Regions from separate parts of the Homo sapiens genome. Here all the other regions are linked to region 2. Evidence: promoter capture Hi-C in human tissues and cell types (Jung and others, 2019). All regions are on one chromosome and are shown on one strand. Each heading gives the region's core, a stretch centred on a gene start or on the middle of the fragment in contact. The rest is flanking DNA. Distances are from core to core; before and after follow the strand shown. Region 1 overlaps SNX30 (sorting nexin family member 30). Region 2 holds the start of GNG10 (G protein subunit gamma 10). Region 3 overlaps SNX30 (sorting nexin family member 30).

Region 1 (3,124 bases), core at 562-3,061, 1.2 Mb before region 2:
AATGGCCAACCTAAAGCACCAACTGTTCGCGTTCCCGGAGTTTGACTCATTGGCGCCACCTTGTGGCCCTGTGGGGAAGGGGCGGGCAGGCTGAAGAAACCGCCTGACAATTTAAATTGGCTTTTGAAAAGGACTAACCCGGAATGTTGTAGAAGTTATCTCCAACTGGAAGAAAAACTTTGTCTTTAAGCCAAAACTTATGCATCCACATTTCACACTTGTAATCTCGATCACCAACGATGTCTATATTATTAAATCCAACAGATATATTTTGCCCCCTTCTTAAAACATTTATCTTGGCTTCGTGGAGGCAATCCTCTTCTTCCCTCCTGCCACACCAACCCTTCCTTTGTGGGCTCCTTTGCTACTTGTTCTTTCGTCTTAAGGTGATAGATCAATAAATATTACCATGCCACAGGCGCAGGCCTTCACACTCTACGCACCTCAATCACATCTCCTCATACAATCTCCATCGGTCTCAGAGATTTAAACACCATTCATACACTAATGACTCCCAAATTTCTATTCCCACTCTAGACTAACTCAAAACCAACTGCCATGACATCTCCACTTTAATGATTAGGAGGCATTCTGAATTCCACATGCCCAAAATAGTGGACTCCCAACTGCTCCACCTGTTCCTCCCTGGACCCTCCCCGTCCCAATAAACAGTACTGCGATCCACCCAGCTGCTAAAGCCAAAAACCCCAATTCCTTTCTTATTTTGCATCACTACAGCAGCAAGTGCCATTGGCCCATCATCCAAAATATACCCCAAATCCACCCACGTCTCTACCACTGCAGTCCAGGCTCCACCACCTAGTTTTCTGCCCTTGGCTCCCTGTGACAGCCTTCTGAACGGCCTTCCCAATCACCACTCTCATCCTCTACAATCTAGTCTCCATACTGTAGCACTAGTTGTCTTCTTAAAGTGAAAATCACATCCTGTCATCCCCCTGCATAAAACCAAATGGCTTCTCTTCTAGTCCTTAGAATAAAGTCCAGACTCTTACCAGCCTTTAAGATGGTCTTTAAGACGCTACTGCATTTGGGAGGCCAACGTGGGTGGATCATGAGGTCAGGAGTTCGAGACCAGCCTCACCAACATGGTGAAACCCCGTCTTTACTAAAAATACAAAAATTAGCCGGGCGTGGTGGTGCGCACCTGTAATCCCAGCTACTCAGGAGGCTAAGGCAGGAGAATCGCTTGAAGCGGGAAGTGGAGGTTGCAGTGAGCTGAGATCACGCAGCCTGGGCAACAGAGTGAGACTCTGTCTAAAAAAAAAAAAAAAAAAAGCTACTGCAGGACCAGGCTCCTACCTCTCTTTGACCTCACCGCTTACCACTTACTCCTTTGCTCACCAGGTTCCACTCCCCAGCCTTTCTGATCTGCAAAGACTCTGAGCTCATTTCAGCTTTCGGACTTTGCACTGGCTGCTCCCCTCTGCCTAAAATGCTCCATCCTCCGACCCTTGCGCAGCTCACTCCCATATGTCTTCCAAGTCTCCAGCCACAGCCTTTTCCATGTGGCTTTCCCTTACAACCTACTCTTACTTCAGACCCTCACCCCACCCCAGTCATTCACCAAGACCCCTGAGATAAGCATGCGTATTGACATAGATAAACCTCTTAAAAATAAGATGTACAATGTGCAATCATTGTATATTTGTAAGTGTCGCAAATTTACCAAATTGTCCGATTCAATTACATGCTTGCTGACCACCTTCTATGGATAAGGCAGTGTGGGAAATAAGACAGTCCTGCCCAAACCTTCAGGAATAAAGCTTCTCCAACATTTGGCCTAGTCATGACAATGCTAATACTCAAAAGGCACTGCCAGAAAAGTGGTGAGGACTTCAAGAGGGCCTCTTTCAACCCATCACTACCCTAATTTCATTATACACACACAGTTTATAGGATGTGAAATCCTATGTAAGGGCTCACCTGTGGATGTCTGCGAGGTATTTAACTTGAGTCTGGGCTTAAGGGTAACTAACCTTTTGTACCTTCCTGTCCCCGCACACATATCCTTGTGACACATGCCTTCAACCGTCTTTCTAGTACAAGCTGTTCTCATTGTTCACTGCTTAAACTCACATTGTTCCATTTGTTCCGAGTGCCTTGATAATGACCCTATTTTTCTATGCTCTCTACCTCCAAAGGGAACAGAACATACCTAGCCACAATTGTCCTGAAAGAGATACAGTTGGAGGCCAGGCTTGAAAAGCCTAAAGTCACCTAGTTTGCCTCTTGGCAAGTAGTAAACACACAGCTACAAGCTGATTGGTCACTAAGGAGTATAGTCCTGTGGCCATGCAACAGAGAAAAGATTTACTCACAAGGGTCTGTTTCTTCGTGTCAACAATGAGCAAATGAGAAAGATGATCCTAAAGGCCCTTTCGAACTCAGAGAGGAACCCCCACCACAGCTCCATCAGGACAGGACTTTTCCCTGGCATTTTCCCATCCAGGGAGGGACCAGCCATCCACCATTTCAAATTCCTAAGGCACAGGCCACTACTTCCAAATGATGAGGACAAACACTCACCATTAGGTTCCCTCAAGGCCATGATGAAGATAGACTGACAGAACCTCACCACACCAGTAACTCCTCACCAAAACCAACCCAGGACTTTCTCAGCTCTGAGGACCATTCAGCAGCTGATGAAGAACGGGCCACAGGCCTGATGTGGGGGCTCACGCCTGTAATCCCAGCATTTTGGGAGGCCAGGGCAGGCAGATCACTTGAGGTCAGGAGTTTGAGACCAGCCTGGCCAACGTCGTGAAACCTGTGTCTATTAAAAACACAAAAATTAGCCAGGCGTGGTGATGTGCACCTCTAATCCCAGCTACTCGGGAGCCTGAGGCAGGAGAATCACTTGAACCCGGGAGGTGGAGGTTGCAGTGAGCCAAGATCGTGCCACTGCACTCCAGCCTGGGCGACAGAGCAAGAGTCCATCTCCAAAAAATAAAGAACAGGCCACAGCCAGGCCTGTGGCAAGTCCTCTGCTCCACGCTTAGTTTCCATACTGCACAGCAAAGTCTGCCCTACTTAAGTTTCAAAAATCAGAAAGCCATTTTGGAAATGGAACTATATGACTCTCTCGGAGGAAGAAAATATACTT
Region 2 (3,098 bases), core at 482-2,981:
CCGTTCACCTTCAGCACTCACATTCCAGGATGGTAAAGATTGCTGCAGGAAAAAAAAAAAATCACAAATATGACCAGCAGTCTCCCTTGTCACAGCAGCTGGGTCTTCAGTCACAGCGCATCTGCGTGCCTGCTCAGGGGCCACTCCCTTAGTCCCCTTTCCTCTGCCTTAGAAGAAAACCTGGCCTCCTATTTCACAAAGAAAAGTGTCACCATACAAGTTTAGCCCATATCTAGAAACTTATCTTTACACACACCCTTACCTTCTTTCTTCCTGTCTCAGAAGCTGTGCCACCAATCCCCCACCCCCCCGTAGCCCTGTCTCCTCTACCAGCAATTGGCTTCCATTTGTTTCTTCCCTGGAACCTAAAAATATAATTTGTTACTTCCTCTCAACCCTAAAACATGGCTTTTCATTTCCTAAGTTAAAAAAACACGTTATTTCCTCTTTAAAACTAGGTTTCTTTAAAAAGAAAAAACGTCTGCCTACCCTATGACAGTCCAGATTCTGCTTTTACTAACACATAAGCCACCAGACCTCTGCATTCCACAGCCCTCTCTCCCTTTACCCTGTTTATTATCTTCACTCCACTTAGTACATGAAGCGATGCTATGTATCCGTTAAGTTGCTGTTTACCTTCCCCTCCAGAACCACCCTATTCCCTGTAGCAGTGCCAGGCACACAGCAAAGGAGAAACTGAGGCACAGGGACTATCCTGGTTGTGTTCCTTCTTACAGATCTTCTGCAAATAATGCTGCACTCGTAGCTAAACACAGCTCTACAACAGACGCCTTTTAGCCAACTGACTAAACGCTGGACATGTTGACTGAGCCCCCAGTTTTTGGAAATCCCTACTTCCTTGCTCGGAAACCTTGCTGTCTCTTATTTCCTCTTCTCTAGGCCTTGCTCGGAAACCTTGCTGTCTCTTATTTCCTCTTCTCTCGGCCACCGGCCATCGGTGTGGCTGGTCCCCGGGTCCCAGGCTCTGAGCTCTGCTCTTCATAGAAGAGGCTTTTTCGCCCCAATGCACTTGAATGACCTCTTTCAGCCCTGGGCGCTGAGCTTCAGGCCATGAGGACAAATACCTCCCGGATGACTCCCCGGAGTCCCCAGGTCCGCAGCCGAACTCATCATTTCCCCAAACCTGTTCCCCCTCCTCTCTACCTCGGCGGGTGGCAGCGCCGTCCACCCTGTCACGACGACAGAAACCCGAGCATCCTGGCTCTCCTCCCTCTCGCTCTCATCCTACCAATCCATCACCAATTCGCCGCCCTGCGGTGGCCTCCCCAGCCCTGGGTCCACCCTCCCGGCCCGCGCGTCGCCGGCATCCCTTGCGCCCTCCGAGGAACTGACCACGGCCGCCTTCTGGAGTGGGCGCACCCCCAGGGACCGGGACCGACCACGACCGCGGGGCCCCCCAGGCGCGGCTTCCTCCCGTCAGGCCCGGGCCCCCGGCTTGCCCCGCGCCCTCCCTCACCGCGGACCCCACCGCCCCCGCGCCCCGCCGAGGCCTCGCCGCCGCCACCGAGTCCCCCGCTGGCGCCCGGTCCGGGCCGCCGGCCTCCTCTTCTCACGCCCCGCGGGCGGAAGGACCGGAGCGTGGGTACCCGGGGCCCGCACCTTGATCCTCTCCACGCCAGCCTCCAACTTGAGCTGCTCTACCAAGCGCTGCAGGGCGCTCGCGCTAGCCCCGGAGGACATGGCGGCGGCGCTGGGCTCCTAGGGGCTGCTGGGCCCGGCCGGGCGGGGAGGAGCCGCCAGCCCCGAGCGCGGGTGCCGCCCCGGGGCGGGGAAGCAGCTGCGCCCGCCCCGCCGCCCCAGCCCACCCGGCGCGGAGCCGCTTGCCAGAGACAGCGGGGACCCCAGCGAGCTGGCAGTGCTCTCCGCTCCTCAGCGCCTGAAACCTGGGTGGCACCTGCAGCTGGGCCTGGAACCGAGGCGGGGACCCGCAGAGCGCGGCGTCCTCCAGCGAAGCTGGCGCCCCTAGGATGAGCAGGAATCGCGAGGGCGTGGGACGCGAGGATGGAGTGGGCGGCAGCAAACACGCACCCCTGAGAAATGAGAACTGGAGCCAAGGTGTGACATGAGTTGGAGAGATAAGGGGCCTTGCCAGACAGTATCACCGGGGAACCAAGGAGAGTTCATAGGATTTTCATGAGGCAGCAACAGGTTTCTAAATGACCCTGTTACTGTTTCACGGAGATCCTACCAGTTGATTTGGTGGAGTATGGTAAATTGGATAAAATCCCAGACCCTGACATCTTTGTGAAACATACAGAATAAAATTAAATTCAGCGTTTCTCACTCTCATCTCACCATTTAACTGTCATCATTGTTTCTATTCTGCTGCTTTTTTTTTTTTTTTTTTTTTTTTTGAGACAGGGTCTTGCTCTGTCACCCGGGGTGGAGTGCAGTGGCGTGATCACAGCTCCTTGTAGCCTCCACCTCGTGGGCTCAGGTGATCCTCCTGCCTCAGCCTCCTGAGTAGCTGGGACTACAGACACACACCACCACGCCCGGCTAATTTTTGTATTTTTAGTAGAGACGGGGTTTCACGATGTTGGCCAGGCTGGTGTTGAACTCCTGGGCTCAGGTGATCCTCCCACCTCAGCCTCCCAAAGTGCTGGCATTATAGGCCTACTGCATTTTTTAATAAGTGTTTTACAAAACTGGGATCGTTACTATATTTAAAATTTTTGTGTTGCTTTTTTCCATGTATCATTAATACGTCATTATTCTTGTACACCATTGTATTTGTCAGAACTCACTTAAACTGAATATTGCAAAAGGTAATATATTGGCTTGTGTAACTGAAAAGTCCAGGGACTTTAAACTAGTGAATTCAATTACCCAAATAATAATTTTGGGGCTCTCATCCTCCTTGTTTTGATTCTGCTTTTCCTGAGATTAGCCTCATTTTCCTTGGTGGTAGATGGACTTCTCTAGTGGTATGAAGGAAGGCACCACACTTTCACTGTCCCCATCTAGCAAACCCAGGAAAAATAGTACCTCTTTTCTTTCTAATCGTTCCAGCAAAAATCCCCATAATGAACCTCACTGGCTGGTATTAAGTCATGGGCCCACCCCTGGCCCAATTA
Region 3 (3,224 bases), core at 664-3,163, 1.1 Mb before region 2:
CTAGTGTTAAATACATTCACAATGTTGAAGGAAACAATCTCCAAAACTCTGTTCATGCCCTTTTTAACCAAGGGACTTTTGGCTGTGATTGGGTTTGCCCTCTCACCCCAATTCTGCCTGCTCATATACATACATGTACATGTTTAAACAGAAAAATACAGACATGTATGCATGGCCACAAAAACACGCACCCCAGCAGTGGCACCAGAACAAAGCTCACTGCTTAGAAGAACAGCAGGTGCCTCCTCCAAAAGGTAGAAGCAGCACGTTGGTCCCCACAGTTGCAGACTGGAATCTGAGTACACCCTAGTCTAACAGCAGTCAGCCCCGTCCTAGGCCAAGATCCTCACCCTTGCACACATATCCTGAGATGAGCACATGTCAAAAGCATTGGTGGGGTACAGTGACAGCCTGTCGTTGCTCCTCACCAGCTGAGAGATTCCCCACGTCCCCTCAGAGCTCCCATTTCGTCACGTGTAAAATAGGGATAAAGTGCCTCTCTCGTACAGTATGAATGAGAGAAAACTAGTGGAGCACTCAGCCAAGTGCGCCCTGCATGGAGTAGCTCCTCCAACACCAGCTCCCTTCCCTCACCTGCCCTCACCCTTCAGCAATGAATGCAGCTCTCTTTTTGGTTTGTTTTTTGAGACAGAGTCTCACTGTGTCACCCAGGCTAGGGTGCAGTGGCGCGATCTTGGCTCATTGCAACCTCCGCCTCCCAGGTTCAAGCAATTCTCCTGCCTCAGCCTCTTAAGTAGCTGGGACTACAGGCACCTCCCACGATGCCTAGCTAATTTTTGTATTTTTAGTAGAGACGGGTTTCACCATGTTGGCCAGCTGGTCTCAAACTCCTGACCTCAAGTGATCTGCCCACCTCAGCCTCCCAAAGTGCTGGGATTACAGGCATGCGCCACCATGCCTGGTCCAACATAACCCTCTTCTATGTGTTCACTTGAGCAACAGACCGGGAAGGAAAAAAAGAGAATATGAAACAGAAGGAGAAATGAATGATGGAGAGTGAAGAGAATCCACAAAAAGCTCACCACAGTGAAGCTAATGAGGCTCACTCTTCTCTTCCCACTCACACAGTCTATCCGTCACCTCCTAAGGAGACACCTAAATGTCCCGCTAATACATTGCATACAGGACCAGCTAGAGCCCTCACAGGCAAGGCCACAGATGAAGAGAATCTAAAGGGAGAACACACTTTCGCCACCTCACATCACACGTGCCAGCAGCACCCAATTCCCTGCCAATCCTCAGACCATCAGTAATTCCCCCAAGTGCCACGAGCACTTTGTATGGGATGCCTTACTCACCTAGCTAATGCCCATTTGTGCTTCAAGACTCAGCTCCAAAGATACCTCCTCTAAGATGTGTTCTTTCTCAACCAACTTCCCCACCCACCAGTACTTGCCCAGTCTGGGCTGTGCAAATCCCCCCCCCCCAAGTTCTCTCATCATGCCCCTGTACCTAGCTCTTTCATAACACTTATGATCTGTGCTGTCATTGCCTGTTCATCCACCTGCCTCTGGCACTGAACCATAAGGTGTGAGAAAGCATGGACCTGGTAGCTGTTATTCTATCTCCAGCATGGTATCTGTGGCAGTTGGTATTTTTCAAAGGAAGGTCCTAACTATATCTCTGGTCTTACATGCTTATCTGTCATGTGACCTGGCCACTTCCCCATCAAGAGATGATGTCTATCAACCCATCCTGGTGAATCTGGGTAGACCCTCTGACTATTTTGACCAAAAGAATATGGCCGGGCCGGGCGCAGTGGCTCACGCCTATAATCCCAGCATTTTGGGAGGCCGAGGCTGGCGGATCACCTAAGGTCAGGAGTTCGCGACCAGCCTGGCCAACATGGCGAAACCCCCTCTCTACTAAAAATACAAAAATGTGCTGGGCTGGTGGCAGGTGCCCGAAATCCCAGCTACTCGAGAGGCTGAGGCAGGAGAATCACTTGAACCCGGGAGGCGTAGGTTGCAGTGAGCCGGGATCGCACCACTGTACTCCAGCCCGGGTGACAGAGCAAGACTCCATCTCAAAAAAAAAAAAAAAAAAAAGGAATATGGCCAAACTGATCCTGTGCCAATTTCAGGCATAGCCCTTATATGGCCCAGCAATTTCCACTTCCCTGACTCTTAGAATGCTCATTCTTGGGACATGCCCTCCAGGTACCCATCCACAACACTTTGAGTAGCCCAAGCCACATGGTGATGTCACACATAGGCACTCCAGTCAACTGTGGCCACAAGTGAGTCACCTTAGGCAACCAGTCCAATGAACCTCCAGTTGACTGCAGCCCCAGCCAACTTCTGACTCCAAATACAAGAGACACCTAGAGCAAAAAACACATACTTGAGGGTAGTCAACCCACAGAACCCTAAAAGATCACAGTACATTTGTGTTTTAACCTACTTAGTTTTGGGGTGGTTAAGCAATAGTACATAACCAAAACAATGTCTGCCTAGCAAATGAGGGGTAAAAGATAAAGGAACAATTAAATTGGGTATGATACAATGCGTGGCACATAGCAACCACTCAGTTTAAAAGCTGTTGCTGTTAATACTATTAAGATTACATGGAGGCCAAGTGTGGTGGCTCACACCTGTAATCCCAAAGCTTTGGGAGGTTGAGGCGGGAGGATCACTTGAGGCTAGGAGTATTAAGACCAGTCTGGGCAACATAGTGAGACCCATCTCCACAAAAAAAAAAAAAAAAAAAAAAAAAAAATTAAAAACTAGCTGGGTGTGGTGGTATGCACCTGTAGTCCCAGCTACTCTGGAAACTGAGGTGGGATGACTGCTTGATCCCAGGAGTTTGAGGCTGCAGTGAGCCATGACTGCACCACTGCACTCCAGCCTGAGCAACAGAGCAAGACTCTGTCTCTAAATAAATAAATAAATAAATAAATATCTTTAAAAAGATTATATGGAAGACGAACAAACTAGGAAACTGGTTAAAGAGGGTGTTACAGAATCCCGCCAGTGAAAAGTAATGAGATACACTGAGTCCACAATGGTGACGGGCTGAGCTCAAGTGTTTGATTCTTGTGTCACTCCAAGTTCCAAGGGAATGACAAAAGGAATATAAAAATAAAAATAAACCCATTAAAAAGCCAGAAAACAGGAACGGATGCCATCAATCAATAAGAAATTTTGAGGAATTTCTGGAAGAGATACAGCAAACAGGATCAAATTTACAGAAAAATCAGATTT

What was found. The method cuts DNA at HindIII sites, captures the fragments that hold promoters and counts their contacts. A contact is called where the count stands out against the background at its distance.
Region 1: a fragment that was not itself captured here is called in contact with the fragment with the promoter of GNG10 in region 2 in 1 of the 25 tissues and cell types used here (lymphoblastoid cells).
Region 3: a contact is called between a fragment that was not itself captured here and the fragment with the promoter of GNG10 in region 2, in 1 of the 25 tissues and cell types used here (dorsolateral prefrontal cortex).

The regions. Positions count from the first base shown.
Region 1 is chr9:112,841,799-112,844,922 of GRCh38, reverse strand. The region is part of intron 6 of SNX30 (sorting nexin family member 30); the gene reads right to left. Among named protein-coding and RNA genes, the nearest start is that of SLC46A2, 48 kb to the left of the region's middle. RefSeq lists a silencer at 29-138. The HindIII fragment of the contact is 3,705 bases long and covers 1-3,124 here.
Region 2 is chr9:111,660,238-111,663,335 of GRCh38, reverse strand. It overlaps GNG10 (G protein subunit gamma 10), which reads right to left and starts at 1,731. Exons shown (of 3, transcript NM_001017998.4): 1 at 1,621-1,731. The coding sequence starts at 1,701. The region is part of intron 1 of DNAJC25-GNG10 (DNAJC25-GNG10 readthrough); the gene reads right to left. RefSeq lists enhancers at 671-720, 921-1,020, 2,091-2,150 and silencers at 1,311-1,430, 1,461-1,910. The HindIII fragment of the contact is 18,619 bases long and covers 1-3,098 here.
Region 3 is chr9:112,777,116-112,780,339 of GRCh38, reverse strand. All of the region lies in intron 1 of SNX30 (sorting nexin family member 30), which reads right to left. Among named protein-coding and RNA genes, the nearest start is that of SNX30, 28 kb to the right of the region's middle. The HindIII fragment of the contact is 6,730 bases long and covers 1-3,224 here.